Linked DNA regions of Homo sapiens: regions 1, 2, 3 and 4 are each linked to region 5. The links are contacts of gene promoters, found by promoter capture Hi-C in blood cells and fetal thymus (Javierre and others, 2016). All regions are on one chromosome and are shown on one strand. The core of a region is centred on a gene start or on the middle of the fragment in contact, and the rest is flanking DNA. Distances in the headings are between cores, read along the strand shown. Region 1 has its middle 15 kb from the start of ZNF709. Region 2 has its middle 5.4 kb from the start of ZNF442. Region 3 overlaps ZNF442 (zinc finger protein 442). Region 4 has its middle 56 kb from the start of ZNF823. Region 5 holds the start of ZNF433 (zinc finger protein 433).

What was found. Contacts are between HindIII fragments. The CHiCAGO score rates a contact against its expected background, and 5 or more counts as called.
Region 1: a fragment that was not itself captured here is called in contact with the fragment with the promoter of ZNF433 in region 5 in 7 of 17 cell types (M1 macrophages, non-activated CD4 T cells, endothelial precursors and 4 more); the score reaches 7.0 in M1 macrophages.
Region 2: a contact is called between a fragment that was not itself captured here and the fragment with the promoter of ZNF433 in region 5, in 9 of 17 cell types (total CD4 T cells, M0 macrophages, megakaryocytes and 6 more). The highest score is 8.3, in total CD4 T cells.
Region 3: a fragment that was not itself captured here is called in contact with the fragment with the promoter of ZNF433 in region 5 in 2 of 17 cell types (erythroblasts and endothelial precursors); the score reaches 9.0 in erythroblasts.
Region 4: a fragment that was not itself captured here is called in contact with the fragment with the promoter of ZNF433 in region 5 in 1 of 17 cell types (naive CD8 T cells); the score reaches 5.5 in naive CD8 T cells.

What each region holds. Positions count from the first base shown.
Region 1 is chr19:12,497,979-12,501,286 of GRCh38, reverse strand. No RefSeq gene overlaps it. Among named protein-coding and RNA genes, the nearest start is that of ZNF709, 15 kb to the right of the region's middle. The HindIII fragment of the contact is 4,354 bases long and covers 1-3,308 here.
Region 2 is chr19:12,369,596-12,372,661 of GRCh38, reverse strand. It overlaps a transcript of ZNF442 not described here. Among named protein-coding and RNA genes, the nearest start is that of ZNF442, 5.4 kb to the right of the region's middle. The HindIII fragment of the contact is 1,161 bases long and covers 1,098-2,258 here.
Region 3 is chr19:12,346,794-12,349,787 of GRCh38, reverse strand. It overlaps ZNF442 (zinc finger protein 442), which reads left to right. Exons shown (of 6, transcript NM_030824.3): 6 at 1-2,994. The coding sequence ends at 87. It also overlaps a transcript of ZNF563 not described here. Among named protein-coding and RNA genes, the nearest start is that of ZNF563, 15 kb to the right of the region's middle. The HindIII fragment of the contact is 1,845 bases long and covers 376-2,220 here.
Region 4 is chr19:11,681,327-11,684,233 of GRCh38, reverse strand. It overlaps the pseudogene ZNF833P. Among named protein-coding and RNA genes, the nearest start is that of ZNF823, 56 kb to the left of the region's middle. The HindIII fragment of the contact is 2,051 bases long and covers 467-2,517 here.
Region 5 is chr19:12,034,009-12,037,069 of GRCh38, reverse strand. It overlaps ZNF433 (zinc finger protein 433), which reads left to right and starts at 1,391. Exons shown (of 4, transcript NM_001308348.2): 1 at 1,391-1,533. The coding sequence starts at 1,531. It overlaps ZNF433-AS1 (ZNF433 and ZNF878 antisense RNA 1), which reads right to left. Exons shown (of 3, transcript NR_134929.1): 2 at 1,298-1,516. RefSeq lists silencers at 1,277-1,436, 1,677-1,726, 1,737-1,856. The HindIII fragment of the contact is 7,472 bases long and covers 1-2,345 here.

The DNA of each region.
Region 1 (3,308 bases), core at 113-2,612, 460 kb before region 5:
AGTGGGGAATATAGGCATATGCTGCCACACCCAGCTAATCGTTTTTACTTTTTTTTTTTTTTTTTTTTTTTGAGATGGAGTCTCACTCTGTCGCCCAGGCTAGAGTGCAGTGGTGCAGTCTTGGCTCACTGCAAGCTCCACCTCCCAGGTTTACGCCATTCTCCTGCCTCAGCCTCCTGCGTAGCTGGGACTACAGGCGCCCGCCACCACGTCCAGCTAATTTTTTGTATTTTTAGTAGAGACGGGGTTTCACCGTGTTAGCCAGGATGGTCTCGATCTCCTGACCTCATGATCCGCCCTCCTCGGCCTCCCAACGTGCTGGGATTACAGGCGTGAGCTGCTGCGCCCGACCTCATTTTTACTTTTTTTTTTAGATGGAGTCTCGTTCTGTCACCCAGGCTGGAGTGCAGTGGCGCAATCTCAGCTTACTGCAACCTCCACCTCCCGGGCTCAAGGGATTCTTCTGCCTCAGCCTCCCAAATAGTTGGGACCACAGGCACACACACCACACCTAGCTAATTTTTGTATTTTTAGTAGAGACAGGGTTTCACCATGTTGGCCAGGATGGTCTTGAACTCCTGGCCTCAAGTAATCCACCTGCCTTGGGCTCCCAGAGTGTTGGGATTACAGGCATAAGCCACTGTCCCCAGCCTAATGCAATCTGTGTGCCACAGCCTCCCAAAGTGCTGGGATTATAGGCTCCTGAGCCCAGCTGTCTTCCTTAAACATTCCTTTTTTTTTTTTGAGACAAAGTTTCGCTCTTATTGCCCAGGCTGGAGTGCGATGGCATGATCTCACCACAACCTCCGCCTCCCAGGTTCAAGTGATTCTCCTGCCTCAGCTTCCCGAGTAGCTGGGATTACAGGCGCCACCACCACGCTTGGCTAATTTTATATTTTTAGTAGAGACAGGGTTTCTCCATGTTGGCCAGGCTGGTCTCGAACTCCTGACCTCAGGTGATCCACCCGCCTCGGCCTCCCATAGTGCTGCGATTACAGGCATAAGCCACCGCGCCCGGCCCAAACATTCATTCTTATCTAATGACTCCAAATGTTTACTCCTTTAGCCAACTGTAAATCAAAGAACCTCTGAGTCTACCTATAACCTGTAAGCCCCCGCTTCAAGATATTCTACCTTTTCAGGCCAAATCAATGCCTACCTTCCATGTACTGATTTATGTCTGCCTGCAACTCCTGTCTTTCTAAAATGCATAAAACCAAACTGTAGCTGGGTGCTGTGGCTCGTGCCTGTAATCCCAGCACTTTGGAAGGCTGAGGCCAGCAGATCACTTGAGGCCAGGAGTTCAAGACCAGCCTGGCCAACAGGGCAAAACCCCATCTCTACTAAAAATACAAAAAATTTAGCCAGGCATGGTGACGCAGGCCTGTAATCCCAGCTACTTAGGAGGCTGAGGCACAACAATTGCTTGAACCTGGGAGGCTGAGGTTGCAGTGAGCTGAGATTGTGCCACTGCACTCCAGCCTGGGCGACAGAGTGAGACCCTGTCTCAAAAATACCAAATAACTGTAACCTGGCTGCCACTGGTGCACTTTCTCAGGACTTCTTGAGACTGCGTTTTCTGGGCCGTGGTCACTCATACTGACTCAGAATAAAGCCTTAAAATATTTGAGAGTTTGGTGATTCCATTGACAGTGGGCAGCTGTTAGAAAGAAGAGGGGGGTTGACACTGAATCTGCCAACAGTCAAATACCAGAAAGGGTGGAGTCCAACTACTCATTACAAGAGCAAACATGGATAAGAAAAACATGCATTTGCAATTGCTTGTTTTTGTTGTTGTTGTTGTGTGAGACGGAGTTTCACTCTTGTTGCCCAGGCTGGAGTGCAATAGCGTAATCTCAGCTTACCACAACCTCAGTCTCCTGGGTTCTAGTGATTCTCCTGCCTCAGCCTCCCGAGTAGCTGGGACTACAGGCGCCCGCCTCCTGAGTAGCTGGGACTACAGGCACCCGCCACCACGCTCAGCTAATTTTGTATTTTTAGTAGAGACAAGGGTTCTCCATGTTGGTCAGGCTGGTCTCGAACTCCAGACCTCAGGTAATCCGCCTGCCTCGGCCTCCCAAAGTGCTGGGAATACAGGTGTGAGCCACCGCGCCTGGCCTGCAATTGCTTGTTTTAATAAAGAAACACTAATAGGATGCACAAGGAATTACCAAAAGTTTTTACGAAGGGCGGGGTGGCTGGAGCAAGAATCCTGGAATGAACCAGGATATGCTTGACAGTGAGTCTTATGTTAGATTTTCCTGTCTCATAGATTTTTTTTTTTAACCTTCACATGTATTATCTCTCTAAAATGAATGGAGGCCTGGTGCAGTGGCTCACACTTGTAATCCCAGCACTTTGGGAGGCCGAGCTAGGAGGATCACTTGAACTCAAGAGTTCAAGACCAGCCCGGGCAACCCTGCCGGTTGGTGAAACCCTGCCTCTACAAAAAATACAAAAATTAGCCAGGCATGGTGGTATGTGCCTGTAGTTCCAGCTACTCAGGAGGCTGAGTTGGGAGGATCACTTGAGCAGGGGAGGCTGAGGCTGCAGTGAGCTATGATCGATCGTGCCACTGTACTCCATCCTGGGTGACAGAGCAAGACCCTGTCTAAAAATATACATTAAAAAGGCCGGGCACGGTGGCTCACGCCTGTAATCCCAGCACTTTGGGAGGCCGAGGCAGGCAGATCACCTGAGGTCAGGAGTTCGAGACCAGCCTGACCAACATGGAGAAACCCCATCTCTACTAAAAATACAAAAAGATTAGCTGGGCATGGTGGCACATGCCTGTAATCCCAGCTACTCGGGAGGCTGAGGCAGGAGAATCACTTGAACCTGGGAGGTGGAGGTTGCTGTGAGCCAAGATTGTGCCATTGCACTCCAGCCTGGGCAACAAGAGTAAAACTCCGTCTCAAAAAAAATAAAAAATAAAAAAATAAAATGAACGAAGATATTTATCTGCACTATATTTTACTATTAAAGTCTTTAAATAATGTAGTTTTTTTTAAATTTTAAGTTGTCTTCATTAAGATTTAATCCTTTATACACTTTTAAAAGTGTAAACTATACGAAATGTAAAATTTCAAATCTTAAGAGAATCTGCATCATAGCATGTCTGTCCACTGTATCTCACACTGAGGGGTATTTTCAGGAAAGAGTAGCATATTATAGATTGGGCGCGGTGGCTCACGCCTGTAATCCCAGCACTTTGGGAGGCCGAGGCGGGCGGATCGCGAGGTCAGGAGATCGAGACCATCCTGGCTAACATGGTGAAACCCCAGCTCTACTAAAAATACAAAAAAATT
Region 2 (3,066 bases), core at 429-2,928, 340 kb before region 5:
ACTATGGATTCCTACATCTTACTTTCAGAAAAAAACACATCAAGGTGAGAGAATTCTGTAAATAAGTTCTCTTGACACATAAATTCATGAGTTGAATAGGTAGTGTTTTTTGATGAAATCAGTTAATAAAAATTTGTCTTTTATATTCCTCTAGATGATTGCATTGATTGAAGTGTATTTCTTTTTTCTCTTTTTTTTTTTGGAGATGGAGTCTTGCTCTTGTCACCTAGGCTGGAGTGCAGTGGTGCTATCTGGGCTCACTGCAACCTCCACCTCCTAGGTTCAAGCGATTCTCCTGCCTCAGCCTCCCAAGTAGCTGGGATTACAGGCGCCCGCCACCATGTCTGGATAATTTTTTTGTATTTTTAGTAGAGATGGGGTTTCACCATGTTGGCCAGGCTGGTCTCAAACTCCTGACCTCAGGTAATCCGCCCACCTTGGCCTCCCAAAGTGCTGGGATTACAGGTGTGAGCCTCCACCCCCGGCCTCTGCATGTATGTCTTCTTTGGAAAAATGTCTATTCATGTCCTTTGACTATTTTTTAATGGTGGTGTTTGTTTTTCTCTTGTAAATTTCTTTGTTTCTTATAGGTGGTAGATATTAGACCTTTGTCAGATGTATAGTTTGAAGATGTTTTTCCTATTTTGTAGGTTGTCTGTTTACTCTGTTGATAGTTCCTTTTGCTGTACAGAAGCTCTTAAATTTAATTAGATCCCACTTGTCAATGTTTTCTTTTGTTGCAATTGCTTTTGTTGTCTTTGCCATGAAATGTTTGCCTGTTCCTGTGTACAGGATGGTATTGCCTAGGTTTTCTTCCAGGGTGTTTATAGTTTGAGGTTTTACATTTAAGTCTTTATCCATCCTGAGTTGATTTTTGTATATGGTGTAAGGAAGGGGTCCAGCTTCAGTCTTCTGCCTATGGCTAGCCAGTTAAACCATAACCATTTATTGAATAGGAAGTCTTTTCCCCATTGCTTGATTTTGTCAGCTTTGTCCAAGATCAGGTGGTCATAGGTGTGTGGCCTTATTTCTGGACTCCATTCTATTCTGAATTTTTTCCTCATGGTTATATGAGTGTTTATTTTTGTCTGGAAGCTTTTGTAAGAATTTAAATCAACACAGTAATGAACTAGTTAATTGCTGCAATTTGTAAAAATATGCAAAATCTGAACATAAACCCCTGACACCACCTTTGACCCACTGCACCCTGTTTTCACAACTGTCTAGGAAAAAGTAAGTATATAATATTACTCCAAAGGCAGTTAATGTGAAAGGTTGATGAAGCATCTTACAGAAAGATGGTTGATTCTTCAGAGAGAGAACAGTCTTGTGATAATAGATTGTGAGTGTGTGTGTGCATGTGTGTGTAATTTTTAAAGGCATGAATATCATTCATTAGTTATAATCAGACATCTTTTTTTTCTTGTTTTTCAAACTTGCCAATTTGTCTTGTCAGGAAACACTACAATTATCACAAGTTGATTCAGGATTTTGTTTCATTGAATTACACTTGATGTTTGGCTTCTTTCTTTTTAGCCATGGGTTCCAGCTTCCAATTCATGATGCTTTTATATCTGGTACTTTTGTTACTGGGCCAGTCCTGGAAAAATAGCTGAGAAAGCAAAACAGCTGAAATGGCTAATTATTTTCTTTTTCTTTTCTTTCTTTTCTTTCTTTTTTTTTTTTTTTGAGATGGGGTCTCACTCTGTTGCCCAGGCTGGAGTGCAATGGTGCGGTCTTGGCTCACTGCAACCTCCGCCTTCCGGGTTGAAGCGACTCTCCTGCCTCAGCCTCCCGAGTAGCTGGGATTACAGGCGCCCACCACCACACCCAGATAATTTTTGTATTTTTAGTAGAGACGGGGTCTCACCGTGTTGGCCAGGCTGATCTTGAACTCCTGACCTCGTGATTCACCTGCCTCGGCCTGCCAAGGTGCTGGGATTACAGGCGTGAGCCACCATGCCCAGCCGCTAATTATTTTCTGAAAAAGTGGATAACATTTTTTTTTCCTAGTCTGTTTATCTTTAGGTATGCTAGCTTACTAGGACTCCAGATGGCCTGGGAGCTTCAGGACCCTTTGCCAATTATCAGAATAAGATAAGGCCTGCTCAAAACCAGAGTAAACCAGAACCAGTGACCCCTTGTTGCCTTTAGATCAGGGATCCCCAATCCCTGGGCCATGGATCGGTACCAGACTGTGGCCTGTTAGGAGCTAGGCCACACAGCAGAAGGTGAGCAGCGGGCGAGTAAGCAAAGCTTTACCTGTATTTACAGCCACTTCCCATCACTCACATTACTACCTGAGCTCTGCCTTCTGTCATATCAGAGGCAGCATTAGATTCTCATAGGAGCACGAACCCTATTGTGAGCTGCGCACACAAGGGATCCAGGTTGCATGCACCTTATGAGATTCTGGAAGATCTGTCACTGTCTCCCACCACCCCCAGAAGGGACCATCTAGTTGCAGGAAAACAAGCTCAGGGCTCCCACTGATTCTATAGTATGGCGAGCTGTACAATTACATCATTATATATTACAATGTAATAATATTTAAGTGCACAATCAATGTAATGTACTTGAATCACCCCAAAACCATCCCCACTCCAGTACATGGAAAAATTATCTTCTAAGAAACTAGTCCCTGTGCCAAAAAGGTTAGGAACTGCTGGTTTAGATCACTGATACCTTATTGTAAGATGAAAATCCCCACCCACAGAAGAAAGTCACGGCAGCTTTCTCGTCGTGTTTTTTTTTTTTTAGATGGAGTCTAGCTTTGTCGCCAGGCTGGAGTGCAGTGACACGATCTCAGCTCACTGCAACTTCTGCCTCCTGGGTTCAAGTGATTCTCCTGCCTCAGCCTCCTGAGTAGCTGGGATTACAGGCATGCACCACCACGCCCAGCTAATTTTTATTTTATTTTATTGTTTTAGTAGAGACGGGGTTTCACTATGTTACCCAGGATGGTCTCGATCTCCTGACCTCGTGATCCGCCTGCCTCAGCCTCCCAAAGTGCTAGGATTACAGGTGTAAGCCACTGCGCCCGGCCCATTGTTTTGTTTTGAGATG
Region 3 (2,994 bases), core at 49-2,548, 310 kb before region 5:
CATGAATGTAAGGAATGTGGGAAGGCACTGAGTTCTCTCAGTTCCTTGCATAGACATAAAAGGACTCACTGGAGAGATACTCTATAAATGTGGAAAAGCATTCATTAATTTTATTTCATTTCAGAAACGTGAAAGAAATCACATAGGAGATAAGCCTCATGAATGCAAACACATGGTAAAGCCTTAAGATGTTTCTTTTGAATATGGTTATCCCCTAACCATATGCAGGGGATTGGTTCCAGACCCCCTAAGCATACCTAAATCCACAGATGCTGTGTTCCTTTTATAAAAGGACATTTGCATGTAACCTATCCACATCCTCCTGCATCCCATAAATCATGCCTAGATTACTTAATTTTTCACCAACCCAAAGCTTTTGTAAAAGTAAAAATAAAAAGTAGGTTACTAAAATACCTCATGTGTTGTAAAAGCTATGTAAACAGTCATTTTATTGTATTTTTTTTAGAGAATCGTGATATGAAAATAATCCTGTGCTGTTGAGAACAGACCCAACCATCACAGGCCTGCCTACATAGTACATGTCACCTAGAATGTTACAGTTTCTTTTTTTCTTTTTTTTTTTTTTAAGACAGAGTTTCACTCTTATTGCCCAGGCTGGAGGGCAATGGCACAATCTCAGCTCACTGCATCCTCTGCCTCCCGGGTTCAAGCAATTCTCCTGTCTTAGCCTCCTGAGTAGCTGGGATTACAGATGCATGCCACCACACCCAGCTAATTTTTTTTTTTTTTTTTTTTTTTTTGTATTTTTAGTAGAGACGGGGTTTCATCATATTGGTCAGGCTGGTCTCGAACTCCTGACCTCAGATGATCTGCCTGCCTTGGTCTCCCAAAGTGCTGGGATTACAGGCATGAGCCTGTAATCTACAGTTTCTTTTTTTTCAACAATCATAGATTGCTTTTATTTAATGACCTGGAATCGTGTGTTAACACTTATGAAAATCCTGATCCTTCTTGCTTGATAACCCAAGGATGATGATGATGATCATGATCATGATGATGCTGATTACAGTATGGTGCCTAATATGATTCACTGAGGTGACTAGATGGGTGGCACTGTAGATAAACAGTGAGACATCAGGCTCACTTGAATCTTGACAGGATGTCAGGATGATCATCTGTGTTGGATGAACCAGGTTCTGATTGCAGATGCTGAGTTTGGAAGAGACTAAATAATACTAATGTCAGAATCTGTTCAGCATGAGGGCTGAAGATGTGTACACACTGAAGGATCTGTCTTCATATTTGCAGATATTTAGTTAGAAACATTGTTGTAGGAAGCTGGTTCTTTTTCTTTAAATATCCTTGCAGTGTTTGTTGGCATGTTATCCCTTGGGTGACACAGAGGTTTTGTTCCATTGAAGGATCTTACTTGAGGATGGCAATCTTTATTTTATTTTTATTTTTATTTATTTATTTATCATTTGAGACTGAGTTTCGTTCTTATTGCCCAGTCTGGAGTGCAGTGGCGCGATCTCGACTCACTGCAACCTCCACCTCCCAGATTCAAGCGATTCTCCTGCCTCAGCCTCCAGAGTAGCTGGGATTACAGGCACTCGCCACCATGCCTGGCTAATTTTTATTTTTAGTAGAGATGGGGTTTCACCATGTTGGTCAGGCTGGTCTCGAACTCCTGACCTCAGGTGATCCACCTGCCTCGGCCTCCCAAAGTGCTGAGATTACAGGCATGAGCCACCGTGCCCTGCGAGGATTGTAATCTTTAATACTTTTCACCTTGCAGAGGCTGTAGATGCCCCAAAAACTGCTGCACATGTTTCAAGTGTCACATCTTTGATATTACCTCTTCTAAGTCTTCTGCATCATCATTATCATCATTATCTGCAGAGAATTTCAGTATATCTTCGAGTTCCTTGTTAGTATTTATGCTCTCTTATTTGTGTTGGGATAGAAAGATTAAGGAAAGGAGAGATGAGAAGGTGGCTCAACAGTTGAGACAGTTTTATTGGGAGTAAACCTGAGAAGGGCTTCCAGCGGCAGGGTCAGGTGCAAACTTCTCTTACAGCCTGAGGCTTTTTTAAAGGGCCCAGTGGAGAAGTGTGCTTTGAAACAAAATTCTGTTAGGGAGGGGTTGGGGAAGTCCTGGCTGTTCTGTTACAGTTAGGGCCGTTATTCTCTGTTGAAGTTATGGGCGGGGCTGACATTTTCAGTTTTGGCCAGGTGGCCAAATAGAAACTTAAAGCTTAGGATGGTGGAGTGTTATAAAGATGGCGGTGCTCTTGTCCTGTCAATGTGTTCCTCAATAAAGTCTTCAAGCATGTCATAGATTGTTTTCCCCACCAACCTCCCTTGCAGCATTTGAGATATTCCTGATACTTCATCAATAGTGGAGAAGCTCCTGAAATCATTGACTTCCTCACTCCATAATGGTTTCCAACACCCAATGAAGTAGTAGGAGGAAAACATGGGTTTCTTCTCCTGGAAGCCTCCAGAAGAAGGTATTTCAATATGGGGAGAGTGGTCAGCTGTGTCACAGGTCACTGAGAATTTGAATAAGACAAGGAAAAAGGGTTGACTGTAGATTTTGGCAAGTATTTGGTCACTGGGGGCCTTGATAAGAGCTGTTTCATTGAAGTATTCATGAGAATAACTTGTAGTGAAATATATCTCAAATAGACCTCCACGATGTTGCCTAGAGGGCAGTGTTACCCTTTGAACTACCAACATTAACCACTGGAACTGCTCATCTGGAAGCCTCTTACAGTGCTGGTACAAACTAGAATACACAAAGGAAGGGATCATTTTATACGTGTTACTGTGCTACTTGCTCTATCTACTTAGTGTTCCATACATGTAATTACCTATTCCATCCTATCCCAAAGTACTGAAAATCTCCATTCTACTTTCTCTGTCTGTGAATTTGACTATTCATAGAGAGAGAGATATGTGGAAGTATGCATGTGTCCTTCCATGTCTGGCTTATTTCACTTAGAACGTTTTCAAGGTTTATCCATGTGG
Region 4 (2,907 bases), core at 243-2,742, 350 kb after region 5:
TTTTAACATTTGTTGTCATTCTAACAATATCTTAAGGGACATAGCTCTAGGTTGTAAGTGCAAATGACCTTAGATTTCTTTTGGAATTATTGTACTGATCTTCAATGATCTGGTCTTCACATTTTATTCCTAAAATGCAGACCCATAAAAGTCATCATAAGTTATTACAAAATTATAGAAAAATTATTAGATTCTATGTTCATGGGACACTGTGGCCATGGCTGATTTATTCACCAAAGTTCAGTTGAACCTTGACCAACATGGTTTTGAACTGCACAGTTCACTCATGCACATTTTCATCAGCTCTTGCCATCTCTAAGAGAGCAAGACCAAACCCTCCTTTTTTGCTCAGGTTACTCAATATGAAGACAACCAAGGAAGAACACCTTGATAATCTACTTGCACTTACTAAAGTCAACATATCTTCTCTTCTAATTTTTTTGATAACCTTTTCAAAAGAAAAGCTTACTGTATTATAAGAATACAGTACATAACATACCAAACAGGCTTGGCATGGTGGCTCATGCCTGTAATCCCTGCACTTTGGGATGCTAGGGAGGAGGAATGCTTGAGGCCAGGAGTTCACGACCCTCCACCTTACAAAAAAATTATACAAAAATTAGCTGGGGATGGTGGCACTCGCCTCTAGACCTAGCAAGGGACCCTGTCTTAAACATATATACACATACGCACTTTTTTTTTTTTTGAGACGGAGTCTCTCTCTCTTGCCCAGGCTAGAGTGCAGTGGCGTGGTCTTGGCTCACTGCAACCTCTGCCTCCCAGGTTCAAGTGATTCTCCTCCCTTACCCTCCCAGGTAGCTGGGATTACAGGTGCATGCCACCACACCAAGCTAATTTTTGTATTTTTAGTAGAGATGGGGTTTCACCACGTTGGCCAGGCTGGTCTCAAACTCCTGACATCAAGTGATGCACCTGCCTCAGCCTTCTAAAGTGATGGGATTACAGGCGCAAGTCACCATGCCCAGCCACACACAGAGTGAGACAAGGACTCACTCTGTTGCCCAGGCTAAACTGTAGTGGTGCAATCATGGTTCACTGCAAGCTCAACCTCCCCAGTTCAAGCGAACCTACTGCCTCAACCTTCTGAATAGCTAGGAACACAGGTGTGCCACCATCCATGGCTACTTTTTTTATTTTTTATACAGACAGGGTATCACTTCATTGCTACAGCCAGTCTCAAAATCCTGAGCTCAAGCAATCCTCCCACTTCAGCCTCCCAAAGTACTGGAATTACAGGTGTGAGCCCCCACACCTGGCCATATATATGTATATAGATATATACCAAACATACAAAATGTATTAATTGACTTTCTGTTATCAATACAGCTTTGGTCAACAGCAGTCTATTAGTAGTTAACTCTTTAGGGACTCTAAATTCACAGGCACCTAACAGACTGTGTGGACGATCAGAGTCTCTAACCCCCACCTTGTTCAAGGGTCTGCTGTATTCCCTACCATGTTCCAAATCATTGAGCAATGCAGAAGACCAAGAAACACTTGTTCTATAATTGACTAAGTGAAGAAATGATGTCACCCTTACCTACAGACATCAGGTTCCTGAAGGTTTCCCACATCACATCTCTGTAGAGATTCTTCTGGGAAGGACCCAGCAAAGCCCACTCCTCCTGGGTGAAGTTCACAGCCACATCCTCAAAGGTCACTGAGTCCTGAAACATCCCACATGGCAGAGGAGGAAGGTTCAGACCAACAGCATTAGGAATCTATACTCACTTCAGAAGTTCACACGATGCTGTGGACTCCAAAAATTTATTCAATGACTTGGTCAGCCTCTTGTCTTCTGTCTACACTCACTTTCTCCATCACAGCAATTCTGATGCTAGAATTGAATATATTCAGTAAAGTGACAGCCAACAAGGACATGCCTCTCATTGGTGATTTCAGAGACTGAGATATGCTGCCTGGATCACCTCTAGTGTCTCTCTGTATAGTGGGTCAGTATTACCTCTCATGAGAAAGTCCCAAACATACTGTCTATAAGAGACAAATTAGCAGTTCTGAGACTGCATATTCTTACACGTTTATTTAGAAAGTTGAACTTTGATGGTATCTAGGGGCTAGATTTGGGAAGATCTGCACCAACATAACTAATAAATGGGGTTGTGTGTGCCTTAACTACTTATGCAAACAATATGGTATTTGCCTAATTCCCATTTTCCCTCTGAGAGTGTGGTATTTTCAGCAGAAGCAGTGTACCTAATCAGCCCTTGCTAAGTGTGAATAATTTCCCCTTCCAAAACTCATAACGAAATTTGATCCCCAATGTGTCAGTACTGAAAGCAGGGCCCTTTAAGAGGCATGAGGGCTCTGCCTCATGAATGGATTAATCCACTGACGAATTGAAGAGGTAATGAATGAATGGGTTATCCTACAAATAAGACTTGTGGCCTTGTAAGAAGAGAAAGAGACCAGAGTTAGCACAATCAGCCCCCGTGCCTAGTGATCTCCACTGCCTCAGACAGTAAAGAGCAAGAAGCTTTCACCAGATGTACCCCATTTGCCCTTGGATTTCCAAACTTTGAGAATTGTACAAAATAAGTATTTTTTATATATTAACCCAAATTCAGGGTTTTTTGTTTTTTTTTGTTTTTGGAAACAGTCTTGCTCTGTTGCACAGGCTGGAATGCAGGGGGGGCAATCTTGGCTCACTGCAGCCTCGACCTCCCAGTTCAAGTAATTCCCATGCTTCAGCCTCCCAAGTAGCTGGGATTACAGGCATGCATGACCATGCCCGGCTTTGTTTTTATATTTCAGTAGAGATGGGGTTTCACCATGTTGGCTGAGCTGGTCACAAACTCCTGGTCTCAAATGATCCACCTGCCTCAGCCTCCCAAAGTGTTGGGATTACAGGCACGAGCCACCGCGCCC
Region 5 (3,061 bases), core at 142-2,641:
ACCAATAAACTGGCTCACCTGCTCCAGTGGCCCCTAGCCAAGAACTGACTCAGTGCAAGAAGACAGCTGAGACTTCCTGTGATATCCTTTTCGCGACCAATCAGCATTCCCCATTTTCCAGCCTTCTGCTCACCAAATTATCTTTAAAACCCTAGCCTCGGCCGGGTGCGGGGGCTCAGGCCTGTAATCCCAGCACTTTGGGAGGCCGAGGCGGGTGGATCATGAGGTCAGGAGTTTGAGACCAGCCTGACCAACATGGTAAACCCCGTCTCTACTAAAAATACAAAAATTAGCCGGGCATGGTGGCGCATGCCTGTAATCCCAGCTACTCAGGAGGTTGAGGCAGGAGAATCGCTTGAACCCGGGAGGCGGAGGTTGCACTGAGCCGAGATTGCGCCACTGCACTCCAGCATGGGCGACAGAGAGATTCCGTCTCAAAAAAAAACCAAAAAAACAAAACCTAGCCTCCCATTTTTTAGGGAGACAGAATTGAATAAAAATAAAACTCTTCTCTTTCATTTAGCCGGCTCTATGTATATTAAACTCCACTGCAATTCCCTGTCTTTTTTTTTTTTTTTTTTTTCGGAGACAGGGTCTCACTCTGACATCCAGGCTGGTAAAATCACAGCTCACTGTGGCCTCGACCTCTCTGGGCTCAGGCGATCCTCTCATTTCAGCCTTCCGAGTAGCTGGGACTGCAAACATGTACCACCACGCCCGACTAATTTTTGTATTTTTTGTAGAGGCGGGGTTTTGCTATGTTACCCAGGCTGGGCTTAAGTTCCTAGGCTCAAGCAATCTGCCTGCCTTGGCTTCCCAAAGTGGTGGGGTTACAGGCATGAGCTACCCCCACCCCCCCAGCCCACCGCCGGACGAGCTAAAGTTTCTATTCAACAGTACTCTATGGCAGGGGTCCCCAACCCCCGGTCCATGGCCTGTAAGGAACCAGTCCGCACAGCAGGAGGTGAGCGGCTGGCGGGCGAGCCAGCGGGCATTATCGCCAGAGATATGCTTCCTGTCAGATCAGCAGAGGCATTAGTCTGTCATAGGAGCCCGAACCCTATTGTGAGCTGCACATGCGAGGGATCTAGGTTGGGTTCGCCTTATGAGGATAAAATGCCTGATCTGAGGTGGAAGTTTCATTCCGAAACTATCTGCCCCCGTAGGAGAACTGTCTTCCACGAAACCGGTTCTGGTGCTAAAAAGGTTACAGACCTCTGGCTTAAAGAATCTATCGCTGGATCCGGTCAAACCCGTTTTCAGAGCCCCGTTACCAAGGGCTTCTATTGTCACTCACGGCTGAGGGGGCGGGGCCCGGCGCTTCGTCCAATCAGGGGCGCTGGGCGGGGCCTGCCGAGTGTCCATCGGGGAGGGCGAAGGCCCTGCTCTCCTCGGTTCCCGGCTCCAGGCGGCGAGCTGAGGTTGGGAGCCTGGCTTTCCCCTCCGAGAGGGTTCAGGTGCCTCTGCCATAGCTTCTGTCGCCTGTGCTGTGACCCGCACTGGTCGTGGGAGTCACCTGAAAGGCAAGAAATGGTGAGCGTGCGGGCCAGGGGTCCCGAGGCGGGGGAGGAGCTGGTTGGAACCGGCCGGAACCGGCTGTGGTGGGACCCGGGCCTCCCCGCGGCGACTCCGGGGTCTGGGACCCGATTTCCCGTGGGACAGCTCGGCCCTTGGTCCCCTTGGCCCCACAGTGGGGCTGGGCCGGCCGCCGGGACCCGGGCGTCTCGTCCTGTCCCTGCGCGGTGACTGTCACCCAGTTCCCAGAGCCCTCTCTGGGCAGCTCCGCGCCCGCTGCCCCGCGTCTCCCCACATTGTGCGGGGACTACGCGAGGGTCATGGGGGGATCCCGCCTCGGGTGTGGGGGTTTGTGTAGGAGGAGGGTGGGCTGTGGGGTCCCCAGTAGCGCCTTTCTCCTCTTAAAAATTAAACTGAGACACGTTAACAATTATAGTTTTGCTTCTCAGAATAGGTTTTAAAAAATATATTAATAATTAGAGTTCCTTTGAGATTCCTGAATGATAAACACCCAGTCCTGGCTTGTAATTTGTTAACGGAAAATGCCAAGCTGTGTAAAATAACTTAAAGAAGTTTATTCAGAGCCGAATAGGAGAGGCCTCAGCTGAGGAAAACACAACCCCAGGAGGCCTGAAGTAAGTGGTCCCGAGGCGGCTCAAGACTGTTTTTATTCATTTCAGGGAGACAGGAATTGCAGGGAGAATCATGCATCAATGCCTGGAAAGGTGTAAGTTCCTTTGGCAGAAAGGGCGGGACCTGTGGAAGGGGGGTTAGAAGGTGCAGGTGGTTGAGGGATTCTGAAGGTGGCCGTTGGTGGAGAGTGTGAAGCTTTGTCTAAAACTTCGAGGCGGTAGGAAGGATTGCTTAAGTGAAGAGGGTCTGGTATCTGTCATATGATTTCATCCCACCCAAAACAAAAGACCTGTTTCTTTAGATTTTGTGAATTCTAAGATTTGACTTACCTCTTGCCTTGCATGGCCTTAGGTCTTGTTTGTAATTTGGTTTCTTATTGTCACAGAGAGTCTGTGTTTCCAGTTGGCTGATGTCTGTTTTAACATGAAGGTGGGTCAGTGGCTATGTGGAAACTCCTAAAGGAAGCGGGTATAATGAGGCCTGTCCAGGTATAGTGAAGCCTGTCTGATGGTTAATCTGTAGTCAAGTGTGGGAGGGTTCCAGCTGGCTCTTTCCAGTGTCAGGTGACTCAATTCCAGAGTCACATTACTTTAAACTTCAAGATAATTTAGAGTTCCAACAGCTTCAATTTTTGAATTACTTATTTTCACAGACCATACAGTGGAAAATTTTTGGTTGTATAATCAGAGGTTACTCGACCAATTGTACCTGGTTAAGCCCATATTTCATTTCCCAATAAATTAGTAACTTGTTATTGTTTTCTCAGGCCACATACCGTCACATAAGTTAGTACTTTATATGAATAGCATTTGAATTTGATTTCCATGTTCTTGGCCAAGATCTTAGAGTACTATAGGCATTAAGTTTAATTACTTCTTATTCAAAATTTTCAACACTCCCCAGTTAACTGGTA